Regions from separate parts of the Homo sapiens genome. Here region 2 is linked to region 1. The links are contacts of gene promoters, found by promoter capture Hi-C in human tissues and cell types (Jung and others, 2019). All regions are on one chromosome and are shown on one strand. The core of a region is centred on a gene start or on the middle of the fragment in contact, and the rest is flanking DNA. Distances in the headings are between cores, read along the strand shown. Region 1 holds the start of BEST3 (bestrophin 3). Region 2 overlaps BEST3 (bestrophin 3).

Region 1 (6,933 bases), core at 2,513-5,012:
CCCACTTAGTAATGTCCCAAAGTCTTAGGTTCAGAATCAAATCCTCCAAAATACAACGTCTGGTCTTTGGTTAATATTTGAATACATGTGTTATCTACACACAATTTATGTTCAACTAATCACTCAGAAGAAATTTGACAAGAGACTTCTCATGTCAGTGGAGACATGTCAAATCAGTTTAAAATGAATGTGGGGCTTTCTAAATAGCTGCTTCTCAAGTAGAAGGTGGTATTGGCTACGTAAACTTGTTGTTGTTACTATTTCCTGTTTCCTTAAGGAACAAAGAGATTTATTTTGACATCTATAGGTGAATATCAGGATTCCAAGTGGAAATGATTCCTTGTTCTTTTCTATGAATTGCCCTGTCATTGGAGGTTTACTGGAATCAAAGACAAATGTGCTACTCTGGACTGTTGAAAATCAGAGTGGTCAAAATCACATAACTTGATGTTTACTGTCAAGGGAAAATATGGCTGGTATAGTTATTTCATAGAGCCCTGAAATTGCCTAAGGGTCTATCATATCGTTTGCTATTAATTATAGGGTTAAAATATTTTCCACAAAAGTCTAGCAAGATTAACTTTATGCCAAATGATACCACCCCTCTAGTGTGGCAGGACAGAGTGCCACTGTCTTCTTTATATGTTGTTTTCCTTTTTATTTTTTAATAATCATATTTTACTTTTAGAATCTGGAAAAAAATTTCTAAAGAAACTTTAAAGTTCGATTTAAAAAGTGATATGAGCCTTCAACTTTGCAATCCGGTGTTTGTTGGATATTTTAAAATAAGCTTTAGTGGCTTGTCTCCTCTAAGCAGGGCTATTTCGACAAGGCCTCTTTCAGTACCTGTTAGAAATCACCACCAGATTCAGAGCTCAACAATGGGAGTTTGTTCATTCAATCTGATCATTATTGACTAATTTGCATTTAGAATGCTGTCTCCAACCATTAATTAGTCATTCCTCAAAACAACCCAATGGGAGAGAGGAACATAATTATCCCTGTTTAGAAATGAAACCAACCAACAGTGCGTTCAGTGCCCCACAGAGGCAGATCCCCTAGCTATGCAGTCATGGCTGCTGGGAATATGCCAGCTGTCAGGGCCACCACACAACCAATAGGAGATGCAAGAGTGAGAATTTTACAAAATACCTCCGATGTTCCTATTTCATAAGCATTTGGGTTTAGATTTGCTGAGATTCGTCTTGCAAACCTTTATAAACATAACATCAGATCTATCAGACCACTTTTCATGGCAACACAACATAAGATGTGCAACATTGTATATATGCTTTTTAAATGTTCACAAATTCCCTCAAATAACCAACAGAATTATAATAGTGAAGGTAAGGAATAATCAAACAGCAAATACATACTAAATATTCATTATTCACAGGGCTCCATACTGGAATTATGAACAGGGATGGGGGCAAGAAATTAAAAAGATACCTACAGCCCTGGCTTTGCTCTAATCTAAGGTACCTAGAATTTGATAAAGAATCCAGCGAAATGCATATAAAACTTACTGTTTTAGAAAAATTTAATTATATGTAATCTTAATTTTAGAATAAGCATTTTTTTCTATATCTTTCTCCACAAAAATACATTTTCTTTAAGTTAAGGTGCAAGGGTGCACAAGTTACTTTAGAAGGTTGGAAAAGTCCCAGGAATTGGCCCTGAAATTATTTATTTTATTACTTAAAGAACGCTGGTGAATTCTCTCTTTTAAGAAAGAAAATATGGGGCTGGGCGCGATGGCTCACGCCTATAATTCCAGCACTTTGGGAGGCTGAGGAGGGCGAATCACCAGGTCAGGAGTTCAAGACCAGCCTGACCAATATGGTGAAACTCCCTCTCTACCAAAAATACAAAAATTAGCCAGGTGTGGTGGGACACGCCTGTAGTCCCAGCTACTCGGGAGGCTAAGGCAGGAGAATTGCATGAACCCAGGAGGCAGAGGTTGCAGTGAGCCAAGATTGTGCCATTGCACTCCAGCCTAAGCGACAGAGTGAGACTGTGTCTCAAAAAAAGAAAGAAAGAAAGAAGAGAGAGAGAGAGAGGGAGGGAGGGAGGGAGGGAAGGAAGGAAGGAAGGAAGGAACGAAGGAAGGAACGAAGGAAGGAAGGAAGGAAGGAAGGAAGGAAGGAAGGAAGGAAGGAAGGAAGGAAGGAAGGAAAAGAAAAGAAAGAAACTATGCGCCGGGTGTGGTGGGCTCACACCTGTAATCCCAGCACTTTGAGAGGCCGAGGCAGGCATATCACCTGAGGTCGGGGGTTCAAGACCAGACTGACCAACATGGAGAAACCCTGTCTCTACTAAAAATACAAAATTAGCTGGGCATGGTGGCGCATGCCTGTAATCCCAGCTACTCAGGAGGCTGAGGCAGGAGAATCGCTTGAACCCGGGAGGCGGAGGTTGCAGTGCACCGTGATCGGCACCATTGCACTCCAGCCTGGGCAAGAAGAGCAAAGCTCCATCTCAAAAAAAAAAAGAAAAAATTTCCTAGCTGACCATGGAAGGATAACAAATGTGATGAATCTGGCCGGGTGCGTTGCCTCACGCCTGTAATCCCAGCATTTTGGAAGGCCGAGGCAGGCAGATCACTTGAGGTAAGGAGCTCGAGATCAGCCTGGCCAACATGGTGAAGCCTCATCTCTACCAAAAATATAAAAAATTAGCCGGTGTGATGGTGTGCACCTGTAATCCCAGCTACTTGGGAGGCTGAGGGAGGAAAATCGCTTGAACCCGGGAGGTGAGGTTGCAGTGAGCCAAGATCGTGCCACTGCACTCCAGCCTGGGCGACAGAGCGAGACTCCATCTTAAAAGAAAAAAAATGTGATGAATCCATGTGTTATTATTTCCCACTACACTAAGCCATCAATATATCATGATTCTCTATGTGTTCTTCTAACACACAAACACACACCACACACACACTAACACATAATCGTTGCTTTTAATTGAAGAACATTTTCAACACCTCTCAAGTGGCAAAAATCCTGTTTATATTCTTGTCTGCCCCAGTTTATGGCTTCATAAGAATTTTTTCATCTGTTTTTTGAGGCAGAGTCTCGCTCTGTCGCCCAGGCTGGAGTGCAGTGGTGTGATCTCAGCTCACTGCAACCTCCGCCTCCTGGGTTCCAGTGATTCTCCAGCCTTAACCTCCCAAGTAGGTGGGATTGCAGGAGCCCACCGCCAGACCCAGCTAATTTTTGTATTTTTAGTAGAGACAGCGTTTCACCATGTTGGCCAGGCTGGTCTCGAACTCCTGACCTCAGGTGATCTGCCTGCCTCAGCCTCCCAAAGTGCTAGGATTACAGGTGTGGGCCACCGCGTTCCAGCCCAGTTTTAAGAATTTAATCTTCATTTCAAGCACAAAAAGACTTTTTTTTTTTTTTTTTGGCTGGTGGGGCCTCTTTTTTGAACTCTTTAGGGCCAAATCAACCTTTCTTCCTTGATCCCAGGGTGGAGTCAAATGAATCTAACAGACAAACGGCCCAACATCCTTCATGTCACTGCCAACTTCTCATTCAAAGGGGTACTTGGGGTGGCAGGTGGAGTTATAATTATAGCTTAGAAAAAAGCAGCATCAGCAGCTGTTGCTTCTGTTTGTTCCCAGCTATAACTGTCATCAGTGGCTAAACTGGCATAAACAGGCCTCTACAAGTGGAAAAACATTTAACCCCTGTTCTTGTCACACTCTGGGTCCTCTCAGTGGCCAGAGAACAGAAAGAAAATCTGACTGTGCACGAGCGAAGGGTGACACCGGGCGTGCAGCACCGACCTGAAGGCACCTCTTCGGGGGAGCCCGAAATTTGAAGATTCTCTTTCCTGTCGGAGACTACAAACCAAATAAATAGGTTAGTGCCCAGAGTAAACCTATGCATTTTAATTCTGACCTCTACTTGCTGTGATTTTCATTTTCCTGGCAGAGCTTGAAAAGAAGAGTGAACTACTAAATGAAAGAAAGGAAAGTTAATTAAGGACTGTTATTTAAAACTACCGGGAGTCCATGAGAACAAATTATGAAATGGGTTTAATTTATTATGCTCCTCTCCCAATTTTGGCTGTATTCGCACTAGGCAAATAGACAAGGTAAAGATGGAAAAATAAAACCGGTTTTGTGGCATGAGTCCCATCCTTTTGTAATGCCACTTACTTGTGCCAAAAGGCCCTACCTTCTTTATTAAAATCAGTAATGTTGAAAGCTAAGTTTGTGATTTTAGAAAATGCTGTAAACGTAGCTCCAGAGTTTCATTTCCTTAGGGAAAATAGGCAAATCAGAGTTGAATTGTTTTTCCAGCAATGAGTAAAGATAGAAAATTTTCTTGTTTATGATAAAATGTGTGGTGTAGGCTACTTTACAAAAGAAATCTGCTACAGAATTTATTTTTTGTGTCTAGTACAATTCTATCTAAAAGCTTCATGATTTCAGTCTAAGTAGCTCTATAAGACTCTCCTCATAGATCCTTTTGAGAAAAGTAAGATTTTAAATAAATCTCATTTTATTTGCATATGTTCTATCTTAGCCAGAAATTGAGCAAGATTTTCAAAGATTAGCTTTGCGCTGTCTGTTTCAAAACCTGAATATTTAATGTCTTGGTGAAAAGTGGTGGAATTCCAAAGAACTCACCAAAAACAAGGCTTTTGGGCCCAGTGCTCATCCTAACCACATTCATGAAATGGACTCAAGTAGAAAGAGTTGTAAATAATGACCTCATTTTGTTCAACTCCAAAGAGAATGTGAACCATCCCTAAGCATTTATGTACAACTTGTCATGGGGAAACTGCACCATTCTTATTTATCACTATGACCCAACTTTTTGGCTGACTTTTGAAATGCAATGAGTGCTAACGATGCATTTGGACCTCCACTAGAGAGACATCTACATGCAATCAAACCCACCAAAAGTGCCCCATCAATTAAATTCTCACGAGGGCCTTGTTTGTCTCATTTGTTCATTCAAATATATATTGGCCAATGGCTATATAATCTAAAAATAATATTTAACAGTTAAGGCAAGTTTAAGATGTCTAATATTACTCTTCCCAGAGACTGCTTTCCTCCTGCTTTCTGCTAAACTGAGATAATGGTTATCTGAAAGTTCCGAATTATAGAAACTAAGAAAGACAAAACAGAGATATGGCTGACTAGTTGCTGGCTTGAATTTCCTTGATATACAGACATACAGATTTATGCCCTATTTTAAACATTGCTTTTTACTTGTGTTTTGTCTTCTTGCTCTTCTAGAAAAAACTATCCAAGATGACTGTCACTTACTCCAGTAAAGTAGCAAATGCAACTTTTTTTGGATTTCATAGGTTACTCCTCAAGTGGAGAGGCAGCATCTACAAACTACTGTACAGGGAATTTATTGTTTTTGCTGTTCTTTATACAGCAATAAGTTTGGTATACAGGTACTTTTCTTTACATGTCTCCTTAAATGGCCATCAGATATTGTGTAAGATACAGTCTCAAAAATCTGAACCTTTTGATTGCCACTGACTTCGCATTATGGAACTCCTTTTTTGCGTGAGCCTCTCATTTGTCTTCTTCCCCTCAGGACAGATTTTAATCCACCACTAACCATTGTTAGGTTGTAAAATAGACCCTCACTGTTAAGATTCAGGTGGCCTTCATTCCAGCCCCAGTTGTGCCTCGAGACTGTTGCAATAGGCACAAAATGGAAGGATTATCCTTAGATCTTTACTGTGTAAAGACTTTTGAATGGGCAAAGTCCACAGACAATAATTATTTGTGCTTCTGTCAACTTGTCATTCATAGTTGATGATTTGACAGCTTGTAGCAACTACCTATATAATCAACATGTTCATGATTGGTGTATGTCAGGGAAAAGCTTTCCTTCTTTTGGCCTGGAATGAAAATATCTTATCCAGGATGATGCCTGCCACACTTAACAGTACCTCAACTAAAGCAAAGGCCTGTAGAATAATTTATTTTCTTTCCGTTTTCTGAGTTGAGGGTATATTATGTTCACAAAAGGAGGTGCTTATTCTTTATAACATTACAACATATGCCTGTCAGATTGACAGGAAATTTGAGCAATATCAAGTCCAAGAAATATTTTTATGATGAAAAGTTATAGTCTTAATAAAATTTCATCAGTATGATAAAAGGGAAGACTTATGAGATTTTAAAGCTTTTTTTATTAAAATTGAATGCATAAATTTCTTCTCTGGAGGAAGCTAAAATTTAAAACAGGAAAGCTAAAGGTTTTTGAGGCTGTATTTCCATTTTTTCTATGTTCATAGTTTGTTATTTTTCTTCTGCATACAGATAAACAAATTTGTGTTTCATTGCTCTCACATTCTTCCTTGCAGCAACAGGATCTCCTTTGGAAAAGAGGGATATTAATGTAGTTGACTGATAATTATTAAAAGTAAAATAGGTACAGCTATTTTTCCACATGTCAAAACAACCCTTCCAAGCAAGTGTATGCATTGGTATATATCTTGACAAAATATTTTTAGAGGGAAAGTCCTATTAACAACCTCTAATAATTTTTCAGACATGTCATATAATATGATATTATTTTGGCAATTTAGGTAGGTATCACCTAAGCCTTCAGAATATGAAATGGTAAAAGATACAATGGTGTTTCGTGATAATTATCTCATTAGTTCATTTTTACTAATGTGAATTTATTGCTGCTACTTCTGCTAAGAATAGAACAGAATAGCCCTTAGTACAGTTGCAATGTAGCTAGAAATGTTCCTTGGGGCCTCAACTTTTGTTCCAATATCATACTTATACCCCACAACATTTTATGCATATATTTCTTCTAAAGCAGAGGGCTTACATTTATAACAAAAATTATCAGTTCAAGTCATCCTTAAATTTTTAAAGTTCAATTGTAATACCTTATTAAAATAGATCTTTCTATCTTAATCAAAGGTATACCAAGAACTATA
Region 2 (6,933 bases), core at 1,899-4,398, 45 kb after region 1:
TATTTGTTTTATTTTTTAAATGGTAGAAATTCAGCAGGAAATTCTTGGTAGCCAATCCATCAAATTTTATCACAAGCAGAGCCCAATCGCGATGCAAGTTCACCCTAACTGGATGAATATATCCTTTCCACAAGGTTCCAATTTCTCTTTTTTTAACCCTAATTGTACAGACATAAATGCAAAGCCTTATCAGGAATGTTTACAAATTACCTCTGAGCAAGGACTGTGCTTTACTCACTATTCCACCCTGGGCTCTAGCTCATCCCTTGACCCCTGTGTAGTAGGCTTTCCATCAAAGGGATTAGGAGCAAGGGCTTGGAGCCAGACTTCCGAATTTGCTCTAACTAGCTACGTACATTTAGTGAATCTCTCCAGGCCTCAGTTTCCTCATTTGTAAAGTGAGGATACTAATACCTCACTTTATAGTAATACAGTAATACCTCACTGTATTGTAATGATATAATACTAATACCAACTCATCTAATTATTGTGATAACTAAATGAATCAATGCATAGGAGGTGCTTAGCTGGGCCTTAGTATATAGTCAATAAATGTGAGCTGGGCATCGCACGCTCGTGAATTTACCTATGATCCATTGTTAAGGGGGGTTTTATGGGTCCTTGGGAAACTTGGCCTTAATTCAACTGTACTAAGGGAGAAAGAACATATACTAGATGACAGATAGATAGATAGATAGACAGACAGACAGATAGATTCATAGATATAGATATATAGATATTTCTTAATGTCCAAGTCTCTAGATCGGTGATTCTCAAAGTGTAGTCTGGGGATATCTGGGGATCCCTAAGACCACTCCAGAGAGTCCTGAAGGTCAAAAATGTTTTCATAATAGCACAACATGTTATTTGCCTTTTTCATTCTCATTCTGTCAAGAGTGTCCAGTGGAATTTTCCAGAGGCCACAAGATATGTGGTGATGTCATCACTTAGCAGTCAACGGAATGTGTGCTTGTACGTGCTTGTGTTTCAGACATTCCACAGTTATAATTTTAAATACAGTAAAGAGTAATAGATATAACCCACATAAGCAAATCTCTTTGGGATACGCAATAATTTTTAAGAGTTTAAAAGGGATCTGAGATCAAAAAGTGTGTGAGCCTCTGCTAGACTATCTCAAGTCCTCAAACCCCCATTTAAAAAATCTATAAGGCAAAAATACCAAAGTCATCTCTTAACTTTGAGACTCTGCCCCCAAAGCTAGGCCCCCGAAGCTACTCTGCCTGGATCTTGTCATTGTGTGTTTCAGGCTGTCTGGGTCCGACTTTCCTGACGAGGAGTGGCTGTGGGATTATGAGAAGCATGGCCATCGGCATTCCATGATAAGAAGAGTCAAGCGGTTCCTGAGTGCCCACGAACACCCCTCCAGCCCCAGAAGAAGAAGCTACAGGAGGCAGACAAGTGACAGCTCCATGTTCTTACCCCGAGATGACCTCAGCCCAGCCAGGGACCTACTGGATGTGCCCTCAAGAAACCCCCCCAGGGCCTCACCCACCTGGAAGAAATCCTGCTTCCCAGAAGGAAGCCCCACGCTGCACTTCAGCATGGGAGAGCTGTCCACCATCAGGGAGACCAGCCAGACAAGCACTTTACAGAGCCTGACCCCACAGTCCAGTGTGAGAACTTCCCCCATCAAAATGCCACTGGTACCTGAGGTATTGATCACAGCAGCCGAAGCACCAGTGCCCACATCAGGGGGCTACCACCATGATTCCGCTACCTCCATCTTGAGCTCTGAGTTTACAGGGGTTCAGCCAAGCAAGACTGAGCAGCAGCAGGGCCCCATGGGATCCATCCTGTCTCCCTCAGAGAAGGAGACACCTCCTGGAGGCCCCAGTCCCCAGACAGTTTCAGCCAGCGCTGAGGAAAATATATTCAACTGTGAAGAAGACCCTGGTGATACCTTTCTAAAAAGGTGGAGTCTTCCGGGATTCCTGGGGTCCAGCCACACTTCCCTGGGAAACCTAAGTCCAGACCCCATGAGCTCTCAGCCAGCTCTTTTAATTGACACAGAAACATCCTCAGAGATCAGTGGGATCAACATTGTGGCTGGCTCTCGAGTCTCTTCTGATATGCTGTATTTAATGGAAAACCTGGACACCAAGGAAACAGATATCATAGAGCTGAACAAGGAAACTGAGGAATCACCCAAATGAGTGCCACCAAGTTCTAGGACCTGGTTCTAGCCTAGATTCTTACCTCCCCAAAAGCAGCATATTAGGCCCAGGACATACCTGAAGGCTGGTCGACTTTTTAAAAAACATGATCACACTGTATAAGCTACTTAGAACTTTGAAGGGCATTATGATCCTGACTTTTTGAGAGCTGCGAAAAATCAAACGCATTCACGTCATCCAACACAACATGGCTTTCATCAGAAGTTACACAGACCACAGTGATTTAGCCAAATAAGTCTTAACCAAAAAAAGGAATCTGAAAAACATACATGACTTATAAATTCATAGATTATTAGTTGTGGAAAGAGTCTCATAGATCATAGTCCAATCCCCTAGACCCAAAGGCCCAGACACGCAGGGTTCTCTATTTCTCTTCTTTTTTCTCTTTCTTTTTTTCTTTAGCCATAAAGAAAGGAGATGGATCACCTAATGCCTGAAAGATCCCCTCCTTCCTAACGTTTTTGTTTGAGGCTTTCTAACCATCTCATTCCTACTTTTATAACTATTATTGTTATTATCACTTCCTGATTCTTAAGCTTCATCAGCACCAGAACACTTAATTCTCTTCAATTTCCTTTTTTACTTTTCTCTCTTTTCCTTTTATTCTGTCATCCTTTTTTTCCCTTCCCTTCTCCCTGGTTGTGCTGCTTTTCTAGTAATCTGTCCCATTTTTCAGGTTATAATATTTCCTCTTGCCAAATCTGTTGCTTATGTCTTGCCATGAATTTCAAAATATAAGACATTGGCAAAGCCTCCTACAGAATCATCAAAGGTGTCAACAAATCCAGCCTGATACCCTTCCAGTCTCACTTCCAGTGGAAGGCATATAGGAGTGATGGTTCCCCCCGTGCCCTTGCAGCCATTGACATTTCTTTCTGCTTCCACTATTTGGTGTTGGGCACTGGAGAAAAACGAAGCCAAGAGAATATGAAATTTGCATAGCCAAATGCTATGGAACCAAAGAATAAGATGACTCACATCTGTTTAACTTGAACTCTTATGCAAAAATCCTAATCGTGTCGCAACACGGGACCAGTTACTGTGTCTATCGGGTCATTTGGGAATGGGCAGGATACTGGAGCTGGGAGGCTAATGGGGTCCAGAGCTGCATAATGGGGATCGGATGTTGGTACTCCTCCCAGGGAGCTCTCAGGACAGCTGTTTGTCGTGGGCTCCCAAGTGCCTAGGCCATGCCTTACGACTGCTGCACTTACCATTTGTCATATGATGGCACTTGACTACATATGGCTTTAGAAATAAAATAACCCTCAAAACTACCATTTATTGAGTGCTTACACTGTTCCAGGCAGCAGCGAATCTTATGAGACTGATATACTGTTATTTCCATTTTAAAGACGAGAGAAACAGGCTTTAGAGAAGTAAGGTATTTGCCTAAAATCACATAGCCGAGAAGTGACAGTGTTCATCTTCAAACCCAGGTTTATCTGACTCAAGAGCCCACACTGTTAACCACTATGCTTTCTCACTGCCCTGTGCTATGTGTAAGGCCCTGAATCTGCCAGCAATTTGCCCAGCATTCTGGAGGATGCCCCAAGGGAGGCATGCCCAACTCACAGATTCAGGCTAAATCTCTCCAGCCTCAAGGGCCTCTCTGGGTCCTCCCCGCTCAAGTCTACCTGCGTCTTTTATGCATTCATAGAGAAGGGCATTGCTCCAGCTTGGAGTACCACCCATAGTCCTCTTCATTTTTCATGACAGAAAAAAGTTGGCAGGACCCTCCTTCCCTTCACCAACTCCTCCTGATACGCAATGTTCAAATTAGCACATTTTCACAAGACCTCATATCTCCCAGGCCTCCAAGCTGCATGACAACAATGACATTTACTTTAACTGACTTTTCTCAAAGGACTGAAAAGAAATAATATTAGAGGAAATGCTATACCTTGATGGTTCTCTATGTTGGTTGGTAGTGTTAGCATCTGGGAAAGCCCCGTTATTCCCAAAGCACTACGTATAGACTATGGGATCAAGAGCCAATATAACACTTCTAGAAGGCAGGATCCCTAACCTTCTCCCAGTCACCAGGCTCTTAATGCTATTTTCTTGGGTATTTCAATTTCAGTCTGTCTATTCTCTTCTCTTTAGCTCTGTCTGTTGCTCAAATTCAAGTAAGTTTCTACTTAGCTGCTTTTGAAACATAATCAGTTTTCATTCCTAAATCCAAGGTGATAAATTATACACAAATATAATAATACATTTATGAAGGGCTGGCAGTGTTCATTTATCTCTGCTTCCACACGCCCCTTATGCACTTTTATCCAGATAATTTTTTAATTTCCTCAATATTTCTTCAAAATTTGAGATAGACTCTCATTTTCTTCTTGCAATGAAAACTAAATTATGACATGCTCAATGAGCCCGTGTGGTTGAATTCAGCTATAAAATCAAACCAGCAATTGCTCAGAGCAGATGAAGAAATTCTCTATTAATTCTAAAATGAGTTTTTACTCAACACAGACCACGGTTGAAAAAAACAAAATGATTTCTTCTCATGTACCTGATTTCATTGCCTGCCTAGCTCCTTTTTCCCTGAGTCCTGGAACCTTCACCCACCTGGATGAATGGTCACATGGCCTGGTGGCTTAATCTTTTGAGTTTGCCCATTCCAAGAACAGGCTCAACTCTCTCACATTAAATGTGATCCAAAAGCCAGAGAGTGCGGTGAGGCCAAGCTCTATTTGTTGCGTTCTCTCCCTGCTTTGTAGAGATAACTCTGCCCTGATGCTGGGGTTTGTAGTTCAGTAAGGAAATGGCCCACTAACTTTTTCTCAATTTTCCAAGAATTTTAGAGAATGACTGGCACCCAGCAAAACAAAGAAGGCTGTTATCTCCCCTTCCTTTATTGTCCTGTCTACTTCATGGTGTATCGCCTCCACCACTCCAGACATCCACTTTCAGCCTGGTTCAGCTAAGCTATGGAAAATATTTTAAATGGAATGGAGAAATGTAAAATTTGCCATGAAAGTAAAGATTTGTTTAAATCTTAGAAATACTCCTCTTGTTTTTGGTGTTTTCGCCTCTAGCTTCCTTCTTCTCCAGAAAAATCAATTCAATTTTTTTCTTTCTTTTTTTTTTTTTCTTTTTTTTTTGAGACAGAGTCTCACTTTGTCGCCCAGAGCTGGAGTGCAGTGGCACAATCTCTGCTCACTGCAACCTCCACCTCCTGGGTTTAAGCAATTCTCCTGCCTCAGTCTCCCGAGTAGCTTGGATTACAGGGACCCGCCATCACACCTGGCTAATTTTTTTGTATTTTTAGTAGAGACAGGGTTTCACCATGTTGGCCAGGCTGGTCTTGAACTCCTGACCTCAAGTGATCCACCCATCTTGGCCTCCCAAAGTGCTGGGATTATAGGCATGAGCCACCACACCCTGTTTGATTCCATTTTAAGTCATTTTTCTGAGCTCTTAATGTCATAAAATCTACTCTCTGAGAATCTACTGAGCCCAAGTGGCCATGAGTTATAATGGGATAAGGAAAACCAGTGTTTTCCTTTACAAATTTGAACAAGTCTGCGTTCTTCTGAACTTCTTATTCTCATCTATAAAATGGGCTCTTTTCTGGCTCATTTCACTTGCCCTTCATGAGGCATCGTGAGAGGAGGCTGGGAATGCAGCAGCACTGTATGGATGGCAAGCATGACTGGGGATTAATGTTCCCATGGATTCACTATGAACTTCAGAAAAAGCCCTTCCTCTCTTCCTCATTTAGTCACTTGTTTGCCAGGATCTACTTATTCTACAGGATTCTAGCCTCTTTCATTCAGGAAGCTTTCCTTCTTTTTTTAGAGACAAGTCCTGCTATGTTGCCCAGGCTGGCCTTGAACTCCCTAGCTCAAGAGATCTGCCTGTCTCAGCCTCCGGAGAAGCTGGGGCTTACAGACATGCACCACTGTGCCTGGCTCAGAAAACTTTTCTTCTAAGACACACACCATTAAGCTTCCAAATTATTAATCTAGTCATTTCTCTCTTGGTTTTTTTTTCCTTTCATATGCTTCCCAACTCCTCCCACATCTTCTTTCTCTGCAGTGTTTTTTGTCATAGTTCTTCACTGTCCACCATATCCCAGGCCTCATCACCATGGCAATGAATTCCTCCTCTAACCCATTATGTGTCTCCATCCCCTCAATCAAAACATGGAACTGGAGAAAAGTAGTTGCTTCTGTTTTCTCCACTATAAATCTAGAGGATTTAGAACCCCTGGTTCAAAGTTAGAAGACCCTCTTGAGGTATCTAATCTCCCTAAACCTGGTCCTGGATCAGTTAATTAGAAAGAACAACTACAACTGTAAAAACTCCTAAGCAAGAGCAGGTTGAAACCTAATTCCCCCTGCCCCTCTCTTATCACAATCATCTACATGATCAACAACAAACATTTTCTGATGTGCTGGGCTATTAACAGTAACAACCAAGGATTTCCTCATTTTGTCTTGTTGAACTATGTCAGATAGGTCCTCAATACTTTTGCATGCTTTTTTGTTTTTTTAGTTCTATGGACCTTAATTTTTGGGACAGGCTTTTCCACTCATGTGGCCACTGAGTCGAAAGAACCAATTCAAGAATACCAGGATCATTCTCTTTTTGCAAATTTACAAAACCCAGAAAAAATATTCCTATTCACTGGCAAAGCTTGAGAGACAGAATCCTAACAAACATTCACCTCTCTCCAAACTCTCTCTCTTCATCACCTCCACCTGTGCAGTCAGCTCATGCCTGGCCA

What was found. Contacts are between HindIII fragments. The study calls those that stand out against the background at their distance.
Region 2: a contact is called between a fragment that was not itself captured here and the fragment with the promoter of BEST3 in region 1, in 1 of the 25 tissues and cell types used here (aorta).

Annotation. Positions count from the first base shown.
Region 1 is chr12:69,696,132-69,703,064 of GRCh38, reverse strand. BEST3 (bestrophin 3) reads left to right here and starts at 3,762. Exons shown (of 10, transcript NM_032735.3): 1 at 3,762-3,860; 2 at 5,252-5,418. The coding sequence starts at 5,267. The HindIII fragment of the contact is 5,542 bases long and covers 1-5,140 here.
Region 2 is chr12:69,650,148-69,657,080 of GRCh38, reverse strand. It overlaps BEST3 (bestrophin 3), which reads left to right. Exons shown (of 10, transcript NM_032735.3): 10 at 1,268-3,472. The coding sequence ends at 2,174. The region is part of intron 3 of LOC105369823 (a long non-coding RNA gene); the gene reads right to left. Among named protein-coding and RNA genes, the nearest start is that of LRRC10, 43 kb to the right of the region's middle. The HindIII fragment of the contact is 6,699 bases long and covers 1-6,497 here.